Regions from separate parts of the Homo sapiens genome. Here all the other regions are linked to region 1. The links are contacts of gene promoters, found by promoter capture Hi-C in blood cells and fetal thymus (Javierre and others, 2016). All regions are on one chromosome and are shown on one strand. Each heading gives the region's core, a stretch centred on a gene start or on the middle of the fragment in contact. The rest is flanking DNA. Distances are from core to core; before and after follow the strand shown.

Evidence for each region. The method cuts DNA at HindIII sites, captures the fragments that hold promoters and counts their contacts. A CHiCAGO score of 5 or more calls a contact.
Region 2: a fragment that was not itself captured here is called in contact with the fragment with the promoter of RXRG in region 1 in 5 of 17 cell types (naive CD4 T cells, activated CD4 T cells, non-activated CD4 T cells and 2 more); the score reaches 7.4 in naive CD4 T cells.
Region 3: a contact is called between a fragment that was not itself captured here and the fragment with the promoter of RXRG in region 1, in 1 of 17 cell types (naive CD4 T cells). The highest score is 5.1, in naive CD4 T cells.

Annotation. Positions count from the first base shown.
Region 1 is chr1:165,442,947-165,446,820 of GRCh38, reverse strand. It overlaps RXRG (retinoid X receptor gamma), which reads left to right and starts at 1,695. Exons shown (of 10, transcript NM_006917.5): 1 at 1,695-1,976. The coding sequence starts at 1,928. The HindIII fragment of the contact is 7,493 bases long and covers 1-2,731 here.
Region 2 is chr1:165,562,985-165,566,858 of GRCh38, reverse strand. It overlaps LRRC52 (leucine rich repeat containing 52), which reads right to left. Exons shown (of 2, transcript NM_001005214.4): 2 at 2,902-3,354. The coding sequence ends at 3,035. The region is part of intron 3 of LRRC52-AS1 (LRRC52 antisense RNA 1); the gene reads left to right. Among named protein-coding and RNA genes, the nearest start is that of LRRC52-AS1, 17 kb to the left of the region's middle. The HindIII fragment of the contact is 6,812 bases long and covers 1-3,874 here.
Region 3 is chr1:165,523,099-165,526,972 of GRCh38, reverse strand. All of the region lies in intron 3 of LRRC52-AS1 (LRRC52 antisense RNA 1), which reads left to right. Among named protein-coding and RNA genes, the nearest start is that of LRRC52, 19 kb to the left of the region's middle. The HindIII fragment of the contact is 1,508 bases long and covers 1,015-2,522 here.

The DNA.
Region 1 (3,874 bases), core at 446-2,945:
TACATGAATTAACATGCAGAGCTGCCCACCTAATGCAAGTGAGCAAATGGTCCTCCTGTATTCTATATTACTTATGTCCACTGGACTCTCATCCCAGCAACAGTCAAGGCAGCTCTGGGCTCTCCAAAGCTCTTTACAGTGAAGGCCTGGATATTTCTTCCTCCTTTGTGACATGCTTTTGCTTTGATTCCCCATTTTGGCCTCCTCCTTTGTCATCATGACTTTGTTCCTGACTCTGGTCTTTTATTCTACGTTTTTGTTTTGGCTTCTCCTAGCATTTGAATCTTGATTTTTTACTCTGGGACCCTGATTTGACTTACCTCTCTGGCTCTCTATGTCTTATGCTGCATCAGGAGAAAATCTCTTATCTTTTTTCCAGCCCAACAGAGCTCAGCCCATGAAACGGACCTTCAATGGGTATGTTGACAGCACCCCATCACCGTGCCAACACATATACCATGAGGAAAAGGTTTGGACCATATCTGGAGTATTGCATCCAAGTCTGGCCAACCCCCTTCCTCACTGTGAGGGTATCTATGTAAACTGAAGTACATTATTAGAAAAAGGATAGGTTGGGAATAGACATGAACCCTTGGTGATACATAGAATTACTGAAAGAGCCAGAGATGCCTAGGGAAAGGGGGATTATGGGCACAGCAGATCAATCTCAGGATTTGCAGAGGATCCCACTGTGAAAGACTTTTTTGTCTTTCAGGCTTCTCTTGTGTGGCCCCTGGGAGCAGTCTAGCACCTGTGGGCAGAAGCTGTAGGGAAAAGGAGCAGATTTTATCTCTATAAGAAACTTTCTTGTGGTGAAAACTATCTAGAAATGGAATGAGAAAGTGGTGAGCTCCCCATTATTGGAGGTGTTCAAGTATAGGCTGAGCGGTGACTTGTCACGAAAACTGTATGACAGACCCAAACATCAACGGGGTGCTTAGATTCTTTGATCTCGGGTCAGTTCCACACAAGACAGGCTCTGTGTTAGTGAGGACCCAGTGGTGTTTTTGAACAGGCGGCAGGATAACAATGGTATATAAAATAAATGCAGAGAAAGACCTCCACATCAAGCCAACCCCTCCTCCCTACCTGTAAGTTTTCCACCTGAGTGAGCTCTGGCTCCAGCTGCACTTGTCAAACTCCCATTGTTAGAGCACAGATAAATGCTTCCGGCCACCCAAGCAGGAGAGGCCCACCTCAACTTAAGGGCTACTCTATTTTAGTTTTCCGTAGCTGGAGATTGAGTATCACGCTTTTCTAATCTTGTGCTTCTGAAAGGGCCCTGTTCTCTCTTGAACCCCACCCCCTCCTCCTTTCACAGATCAAATACCAAGTACATTGGACAGATAGAAGTTCGAATGAGAAAATGCATTTTAATAAAATCCCATTGATTTTTGTGGATGTAAGTCAAGGAACAGGCACCTAAAGAGTCTTCCATCCCCTGCCGTCTCCCGCCTCTCTCCTGACCTACACCGGGCGGTCATACATCGATTGGCTTCCTAGATAATAGATCGTGCCACCCGGTAGGGACCTCTGGGGACGCGCCGGGAGCTGGAAGAGTCGCACGCAGCAGCCCAACCCTGAGTTAATCAAACTAGCAACAGGATCTCAAGCAGCAGCGACGGCGGTGGCAAGAGTAGCGGTGACGGCGGCGGCGGCGGCGGCGGCAGCATTATGCGTGATTACTGACAGGCACCAGCTGCTGCCGCCACAGCCGTCTCAAACGCACTATGTGGACTCTCCGATCTAGAGGCAGATTCCTGACTAATCCCAGAGGGCTGGCCCAGCCTGTGCTCCCCGGGCTGCTAGGAAGCGATGACCACTCTTGTTAGCCCAAGTTGAAGAAAGCCGGGCTGTGCCTGGGAGCCGAGAGAGGCGGTAATATTTAGAAGCTGCACAGGAGAGGAACATGAACTGACGAGTAAACATGTATGGAAATTATTCTCACTTCATGAAGTTTCCCGCAGGCTATGGAGGTAAGTATCTCCCTTGGGCTTCACTGCGTGGACCTGTATGAGAGACTGAGAAGAAATTGGGAAATACGAATGACTGGATTAGTATTGAATTAAAAGGAGAACATATATGTTTATATGCATATATAGTGTGTATATAGCGTTTCAGCGTGTGTGTGCACGCGTGCATGAGAGAGGAGAGGAGGAAAGAATGGTCTGTAGGTGAGGATACGTTTGCATATCAGAATGAGGATACGGGGATATTCTAAGGAGAGAGTAAACCAACATGCTTGAGAATGTGTCTGAGACAAAGATAGAATAAGAGCATTGTTATAACCCAGTGTGTTTGTGCGGGTGTGAAAAGTGGAAGAGTTAACGGGGAATTACTATGATGTTCCTATTAGCCAACTTGTAATGAGAAAAAATGTGATTAAAAAGGTTTTGCCTATCTTGAGGGTTCCTGGGATACTTTGTAACAAGGGCATGATTGTTTTACTCAAAAGCAGATTTCCCTTTAATTGGATTTTTAAAAAGAAAACATAGTGCTTTAATTTGCTACTGTGTTTTCCTTCCCCTGTTTTCTTTCCTTTGATTTGCTAATAGCCTCTTCTCTCCTCCCCTGCTGCTGCCCCCAATTCTACTGCAAGAGTTGCTGCAATCACTTCCACTCTGGGGGTAGAGATCTGGGGATGGGGGGTTGGGGCTCTTAGAGAATTGGCAAACTGAAGATTCAAGTCACCGTGCCAGGCAGGGCAGCCCAGTCACACTTCACAGAAGCTTCCGGAGACTAGGTCCTCAGGCTGCCTTAACGCCCAAGCACATCCGTCCCAAGGATCCCTTGATTTAGTGACAGAAACAGTACAGCCGCCCAGCTCTGAGTAAATGGAAGCAACAGCTGACCAACTGGCCTGTCGCTTGTCAGTTGGAGGCATGCAGCTTATGTTGCTGGGAGCCAAAGAAAGATTCTGGCAGGCAAGACAGCAGAAATTCTTATAAGGTTTTGAAAATTGAAAAGTCCCTGCTCTCCAGACTTCCTCCGTGGACCAATTCATCTGAAGGCTTGGGACTAAAGCTTGCCTAACTTGGCTGGGCAGAACCCCCTGGGAGGCATGGTGACACACTGCAAGGTAGAAGTGATCTCTGTCACCAGGAGGTGTTAGACCTGGGAGTTTGCACATTCATTCAGGGTAGTTTTTATGAGGCAGGCATGGTGTTGGGCACTGGGAATACAAATATGAATGAGACACAGTCTCTGCCCTTTGGGACTGGGGCAGGCTTGTTACACAGGCACATTATAATACTGCATGATGTGTGTAATAGCAAACGTAGGTTGTACTTGGACTTGGGGTGAGGGCCATGGAAATGTTCCCGAGGTGATGTTCAAGTTCTTTGGGCCAGTCTGATGACAGAGTGAGAGCGGTGGCCAATGCTGTGACCTGGGCATTTGATCTCTAGTCTATGGTTGGGCTCCAGATGTGAAAAGCCTCCTCAATTCCCACCTCAGTCCCATTCAGAGCTGAGAATTGCTTTTTCCTTTACATCTTAGTTCATTTGTAAGAGGTGCATGCTCATTTTCAGCCAGATTCGTGGGCCCCCCAAGGTCTGTGAGACTGTGGCTTCATTAATGCCAAAGAGACCCTTGGAGACAGTTGGGGTGAATAAAAGGGTTGAAGCTAGAAGGATTTAGGGAGAGAACTAAAGTAAGAGCCAGAGAAAGAAGATCTAGTTAAAATTCCATGGGGGCTGGAATCTTGGAATGTTAGCATCCTAAGGACCTGAAACAGCATCTTAGGCTCTCATCTTATAGATGTGTAAACTGAGGCTCAAAAGAAGGCAGGGACTAGTCCAAATTTATATGGGGCTGAGCTGCAGAACACTTCCAGAAAAGCCCTTACTCAAATTTATAATATTGTTGCTTTAAT
Region 2 (3,874 bases), core at 464-2,963, 120 kb before region 1:
TCCTTGTTTTCCACAGCATTTTTGGCACACAGACTATGTTTCTCTTCAGTAAGGTTGGGACCATGTGAAATGTGAGTTGAAGTGACACGTGTCATTTCCAGGCCCAGTAGTTACAAGCTGTGTGCCTATGGCCTCTCTTTTCTCTTCTGGAGTGGACCTCTGAGGCCATGTTCTAGGTGCTGGAGCTACAGGGTGGGAGGGCTCCCTACCCACATGGGACTCTACATGAGTGACAAATTAGTCTTTGTTGTGGTAAGCCAATGAAACTTTGGGGTTAATTTGTTATTGTAGCATAGCCTATCATAATCCTGACCAACACAGGGATATAAAAGGCCCTTCAGGATCTGGCCTTGCTTCTCTCTCTAACATTATTTCTCTTTTCTTCCTTCCCTTATACTCTATATTCCAGTTATAATGGCATGCCAGGCTCTTCCTCACTTCCAGGCCTTTGTAGATGCAGTTCTTGTTGCTTAGGATGTCTTTTTGTCACCCACATCCACTTTACCACTTTGTCTGGTGAATCTCAACTCAACTTTCAAGCCTCAGTGTAGATGCCTCTTCCTCTGAGAAGCCCTCCAGGATGCCCTACTGCCTCCTGGTTGAGGCGCCCTTCCTTTGGGTCCCCTTAGAATACTGTGCCGGCCCTTCACTTACCACTCTGTCTTGAAATGGACTTTTTTCTTGTTTCTCCACCAAACTGAACTGGAAGCTCCTTGAGCTTTCACCACTTTGCCACGTTCACTGTGATCTTCCCAGGCCTTGTCAGAGTAGGTGCTCAGCCCATTTTTGTGGAATTACTTATTGTTGGAAGATCCAGGCGAAATCTTAGGGGAGAAGCTATCATGAAAAGCTGCAATTCACATTTCTTTTGCCAAGACTTTCTTGGTAGTTTAAATTCCTGAGAGACAATATTGATTAGTGATTTGGAGGAAACAGTCTATAGTCAGCCACAGCTGGTTTCACTTCTGGTTGTACTAGATGTGTAATGTTTAGCAAGTTACTTACCCTCTTAAACCTCAGTTTCAGGATCTGATGGGAATAATGCTTACCTCATAGGATTGTTGTGATGATTCAATTAGTTGAGATGTGTGTGTTTGTGTGTGTATGTGTATGTGTTTGTGTGTATGTATATGCACTTAGAACAATGCCTAGCATATAGAAGTGCCCAATAAAGTTAGACGTGTTATTATATTAAAAATATCCTAAATGCAAACGTGGTATCCTAGATTGGGTCTTGGAACAGAGAAAAGGGCATTGTGGAAAAAAAAACTAATGAAATACCAATAAAGTGTGGAGTTTAGTTAATAATAGTGTTCCAATATAAATTTTTCAGCTTTGATAAATGTACCACTGTAATGTGAGATAACGTTAGGGGGAACTGGGTGAGAGGTATGTGGGAACTCTGTGCTACCTCTGTAGCTTAGTCCAAAGTTATTCCATAATAAAAAGTGTATTAAAATAAATTCTTATTATAATTGATATTCATTGTATTCTCAAAATATCCCTATATAAGCACTGCAGTGATTGCCACTTACAGATGAAGAAACTGAGACACACAAAAGTTAAATAACTTGCCCATGGTCACTCTTAGTTCAGGATAACAAAGTAGGAATGATTGGTGGGTTGGGATTTAAATAGAATGCAGTAATAAACACTTATTTTGTGGAAGTTATCACTCTATATGCTGTGTCAATAGAGAACACTGAAGGCAAATGGTCTCTGCTCTCAAGGTCATTATAAGTAGGAAGCCCAAGTTCACACAGTGCTAAGTGCAGAACTGGGGATAGAGATCCAGCTCCTGAGTCTGGACCCATGCTCTTAAGCATTGCACCAAACAAACTGGAGGGCAAGTGGTGATTAGAGTCACATGCAATTCACAGTGGAAGTGCAGATGTAAAAACGGGTCTGGTTGGGGGTTTAGAGACAGCTAGTTTCATGGGTGGGGGTTTGATCTGAGTCTTGAACATGAGTATAATTTGATCTGAGTAGAGCAAAAAGGAAAACCTGGAATGGGTCTTGGGGCCTGGGTTGAGCCAACCCTCTCTTCACTCCCTTTGCCACATGTCCCTGAGCGCAGGACATGCTTGTGTACACTTGGCTATTCTGTTTAGTGCTCAGTGATAAACAGTAGCTTGTAGTGAGAGGGCATGGACTTTGGCATGGGTCCAGCAGTTGCTCTGCTCTTACCAACTATGTGATCTTGAGCTGGTGACTTCATCTCTCCATGCCTCAGGAAAACGATGGTGACAATGACCACCTGACCTTGTTGTCACGCACATTAGCCCAGGGGGAAATGTGCATAAAGCTGGGCACAATGCTGGGTACTTGGGATGGACCCGCTGGGTGGTGGCCACCTTTGTGTGGCCAGGCTTACATGATGAACCCTTGGTTGTGCTGCTAAATATTTATATTTCATGTAAAGGAAAGAACATGGACTTTGGGAGGCTGTGTTACTTACCAGTTGGGTGACCTCAATCAGTTGTTTAACTTGTTCAGGCCTCAAATTTTCACGGTAAAATAATATCAATATTATAGGATGGCTGTGATAACTACAAGATGGAGTGTGAAGATGGTACATGGATGGACACATTCCATTAATGTTAGTTCTTATCATTGTCTTATACTTTTCTCCATTTGATTAATATTAATCTTCACTTCCACTTAAATTGTTTGCTCTTTAGGGAAGATCTTAAATCTTGTATTCCTTGTATCCATCCCTCCAGCACTTAGTTTGGGGACATAATATGTACTTATTAAACATGAGATGGCTTACTTTTGGGGTAGACTTTCTCGGTATTTAGGTGCATCCAACAACGTTTCTAGATTTTGTTCTACCCCATCCTGCTGAGCTCAAGGAATCATCCTCGGGCTGGTGCAGTGGGAAGGGACCAACCTGTGAAATGGCCATCAGAGATTTTATTTATTTTACTAGAAGGTTTCAATCTCTATGACAGCTCCAAGGTGGTGGGATGGGGAGGGCAAGAGAGAAAGCAGGGAGCCTGGGGGAGGCACATAAGATAGTGGTCTCTGGCAACTAAATAAGCTGAGGGAACTCCTGGACCGAGCTCGTCTGGGTTTGAAAAATCCGCCGGCTGACTTCCACCCTAGTCCCGGCCTCGTCCTCATCTTCTTCACTCGACTTGTGGCGGGTGTTCTGGTAGAGCACAGCACACACACCTGTGAGCCAGGCAGCCACAGTTCCCGCGGCGAAGATGCAGAAGCCGATGAGCAGCAGGAAGATGTAGTCTTTGTGGTCCAGGTGCGTGATGCACATGTATCGGAGTGGGTTCCCCACCCGGGTGATGGGCCACCCTGTCAGCTCTGTGGGCTCCACACATGTGGCATTTAGATCATCTAAGAAGAAAAACACAGCAGGCAGGGTGCTGAAACAGCGTGACTCCCAGCGTCCTAAGGCCAAAGGGGATCAGGAGGGACCATCTGCACCCTCAGTGCTCCAAGTGTGGTCTGTGGGCCAGCAGCATCGACATCACCTGGACCTTGTTAGAAATGCAGAATCTCAGGACCCACCTGTGACCTCCTGAATCCAAATCTGCATCTCAACAAGACCTTCAGGGTATCTGTTGCACATTGGAGTTTGAGAAGTACTGGGCCTGGACTGTTCCTTGTCCCCAGGCTTTGCTGCATTCAGGCCATGAAAATGCTTCTTAAGGATGCTCAAGGAAGGAGAGGCCACAACAGGGGTGGGGAGGTTGGAAGGTTAGGCAAGATTGCCATGGAGTGTTGACATCTCTCTGTTCTTTACCAGTCACCTCCCTCTTGCCCCTCCCTTGCCTCCATCCCGACTTTCCCTTCACCTTGTCCCTTTCTCTTTAGCAGTAGCTGAGTCCAACCTGGCATCACTAGCATCCCCCGA
Region 3 (3,874 bases), core at 519-3,018, 80 kb before region 1:
GCACATTTCCTGTTCAGGACAAGGATACGATGGGGTCTCTTAGAAGTAGGTGACTTGGGCAGTTCTTTTTATTGGGGGAAAAAAATGAAGATAATTTGGCCAGGCTTTGGAACCTAATTTCCCATGATTCTCATCACAGGGCCTTCATCCTAGCCGGGCGAGTCTACTCATTATTCTTTACATCTAAACAGACTGTGCAGATCCTGCTCGGCGCCCTTGTTTACGCTGTTCCTGGCAAGGGCGGCGCCTGCTTCTCTGCCCTCTGCTGGGATCTTACCCTCCTTCAAGGTCCAACACTCGCTGCTTTTGCAAAGCTGCTTTAAAAAGCGTTCATCCTTTTCCAGTAATTTCTCCCTCTCCGAATTCTTTTTATTTTATTATTTATTTATTTAGTTATTTTGAGAGGGAGTCTCGCTCTGTCACCCAGGCTGGAGTGCAGTGCGCGATCTCGGCTCACTGCAAGCTCCGCCTCCCGGGTTCACGCCATTCTCCCGCCTCAGCCTCCCAAGTAGCTGGGACTACAGGCGCCCGCCCCCAGGCCCTGCTAATTTTTGTATTTTTAGTAGAGACGGGGTTTCACCATGTTGGCCAGGATGGTCTCGATCTCCTGACCTCGTGATCCACCCTCCTCGGCCTCCCAAAGTGCTGGGATTACAGGCGTGAGCCACTGCGCCCGGCCTGAATTCTTTAACTAGCTATGATTGTCTATGTGACTCAAATAACACTTATATACTGTGATGTAAAGTTAGTGTTTTACACACATATGTTTAAATCTCTAACGAGATAATGTATTTCTTATGATCTGAAACCTAGTTTTATATCCTTCTTACTGCTCCCTTCCCACTGTGGTGGTTAGTACAAATCTGGCCCCATGTCAGGTGCTCAAAGATTACTTGATACGTTATTTGACGATTTCAGAAGATTCCATGAAGCTCATCACCAGGTAAATCATGACATCTTATTCTTTTTGTGATGCTAACAAGGTAGGAACAAAGGCTGTGTCCTAATTAAGCTTAGCACATTGACAGCACTCTCAAGGGAAACAAAATAGTTGTTGTGAGGGTGGATAAGTAACTGGTCAGTGTTTCTCCTCTCGTATTCTACTGGCAAAACTGGCTCCATGGATGCAAAGTCCATTGAGGCATGGCCTGTTCTGTTTGCACAAGCTGAGTGTGGGAGACAATAGGGCACTGATGATTACAAGACAGTGTGGTAAATATTATAATAGAGTTGTGTATAAGAAGCTATGGGAGTCCAGAGAAAGGGCCTGGAAATGAGGCTGGGTTAGGTTGTCAGGGAAGGCTTCCTGCAAGAGGTAGTGCTTGACTTGAATTTAGACTTAGAAGAAAGGAAGGAAAAGATTTTTTTCCGTCACAGCCCTAGTTAGGAAAGAGTGTTTGGGGAAATTTAGAAGGGAAACTTTTCTAAGATAAAGTTATTTTATGAAGAAGCAGCACTGGGAAATTAAGGAGATTTAATTACAACTGCCTCACGAGCAGGATTTGAAAAGGAGTGGGAGGCTCATGGAAACCTTAATTGCTGAGAAAAGTTAAGAGGAGAAATATGACAGAAGTAATGGGTCTATATGTATGTCATGTCTGATTTGTCACTTTTCTAGACAGGCACTCTGCCTCCTGCCTTATTCTAGGTTAGAGAAAAAAGGATCCTTCAGCAGCTAAGGTGAAGATACCATCCAGGATGCAGAAATGGGACCTGGAAAGACTCCGTATTCCTTTTAGGGAAGAAAAGGTCCATCTCGAATTACCTCATTGTTCAGAGAATAATAAGTATTTGTTCAGCAATAACAATGTGTGAGATGCCTGAAAGAGAAATCAGGCTAAATAATTTCCTCATTCCTTTGGAAAATACAAAACAGCTTGCCTGGTTTCTCTTCCAATTTATTCTTGTGGCTTTTTATTCCTTTGGAGATCTGGGAGGATGCTTATTTTATGAAACTTGTAGACTAGCCCTTCTGTATTCAGGGAGGATGTCCTTGTGTGCATTAAGCTGGGTCTTTAAGATTAATGTAATACATGGGAAAATGTGATAAATGATGCAGCATTAGCAGCTTTTAGCTTGTCAAAGTGGCCGCATGTTGAAAGCATCTGGAAAAATTGCAAATTGCAGCATGATCAGAGCATAACTGACAGATGTCAACACAGAGAAGTGGCCAAATGAGCGGGATGGAACCAGACCCAGCTTCCTGGGTTGTGTGCACAGGGATTGCTAGAGAGACGGCAGGATTTAAAGATGATGTCTTTTGTAACTGTTAGAGCATAGAAGTGCTAGAAGGAACAAGTCTGTTGGTACAGACAAAAGAGAATCTATGTTACTGAGAAGAGAATAGTTTTCATACACAAGTAGAATGATAAGACTGGATCTTCTCTAATGTCCTGTCCAACACGAACTGGGATCCCATGACTCTCTGAAACAGGATTTAATGAGATTTTGTATAGGCTCTAATATCTCATAGACCAAGGGAGCCCTTGGATACATATATATTTTTCTGCCATCCTTAAGCTTTAATAGTTTACATTTGTGTAATACTTTACAGTTTGTGGGAGCCTAATCTCCCAGACTATTGGTTATCTGTTGTCAAAATAATGCTGTGTAACAAACAACTATGAAATCACAGGGGCATACAACAATATGGGTTTATTGCTCGTAAGTCTAGAGGTTTGCTACATGACTCTGCTGATTTTGGCTAGGCTTATTCACATACTTGGGGGTTTGGGGCTGTCAATTGATCTGAGCTATCAGATGACCTGGGGGACTCAGCTCTGATCCATGTGCCTTTTATCTTTCATGAAGCTAACCTAGGCATGTTCTCATGGTAATGAAAGAAAAGATAGAAGAGGCACAAGAAAGCAAGCAAACATTGCAAGGTCTCATATAATGGCCAAAGCAAGTCACATGAATTCCGTGCCAAGGTGTGGGGAAATGTACTCCATTCCTTTTGATAGAGAAATTTCACCTGGCAAAGGGTGTAGATACAGGGAAGAGAAAATAATTAGTACAATTATAGCAATTTACCATACAGATATTGCCTTGTTTAATCTTCATGGTATAATCCTTTACCCATGAAAATTGGTATTAATATTATTCCCTCTTTCGCAGATTAAAAAAAAAAGGAAACCAAAGTAATAAGAAATTGCTGGGTGTGGTGGCTTGCACCTGTGATCCCAGCTATTTGGGTGGCTGAGGTGGAGGGAACTGCCTTAGCCCAGGACAACATAGTGAGACCTCCATCTCTAAAAAAATAAAAGCAAATTAGCTGGGCATGGTGATGCATGGCTGTAGTCTCAGCTACTTGGGAGGCTGAGGTGGGAGTATCACTTGAGTCCAGGAGTTCAAGGCTGCAGTGAGCTATGATCACACCACTGTGCTCCAGCCTGAGTGACAGAGTGAGATTTCATGTCTAAAAAAATAAAAAAGATTTTCTTCTAAGGCCACATGGCTGGTCAGTAACATTTCAGAAAGAATAATGCTAGTCTCCCTATTGCAAATGTAAGGAAATTTCCATTGTACCATACCATGCTTAATTAAGATGATAAATCCCAAGGATTTTGTCAGAAACTTCCTAAAGGTAGACTGGTAAAATAAAGTGTGTGGCCCTTGATTTTGTGTGAGTTGGAGAATACACAAACTTTTACTTAGGTTTTCTTAATCTATTTATGAATTTCTTAGTGCCCCTATAAGATATAACATTTTCACGTAATAATATATTAATCCAAGGAATTCACTAGCCATGTGAAATTTACTTTACTTGTTAATTAGGTAGTTACTAGGTCTATTTGTAAGAGTAGGTGAGCTGCTGTAACTATGTACTCCTAAATCTTAGTGATATAGAGTAATAAAAGTTTATTTCTTATTC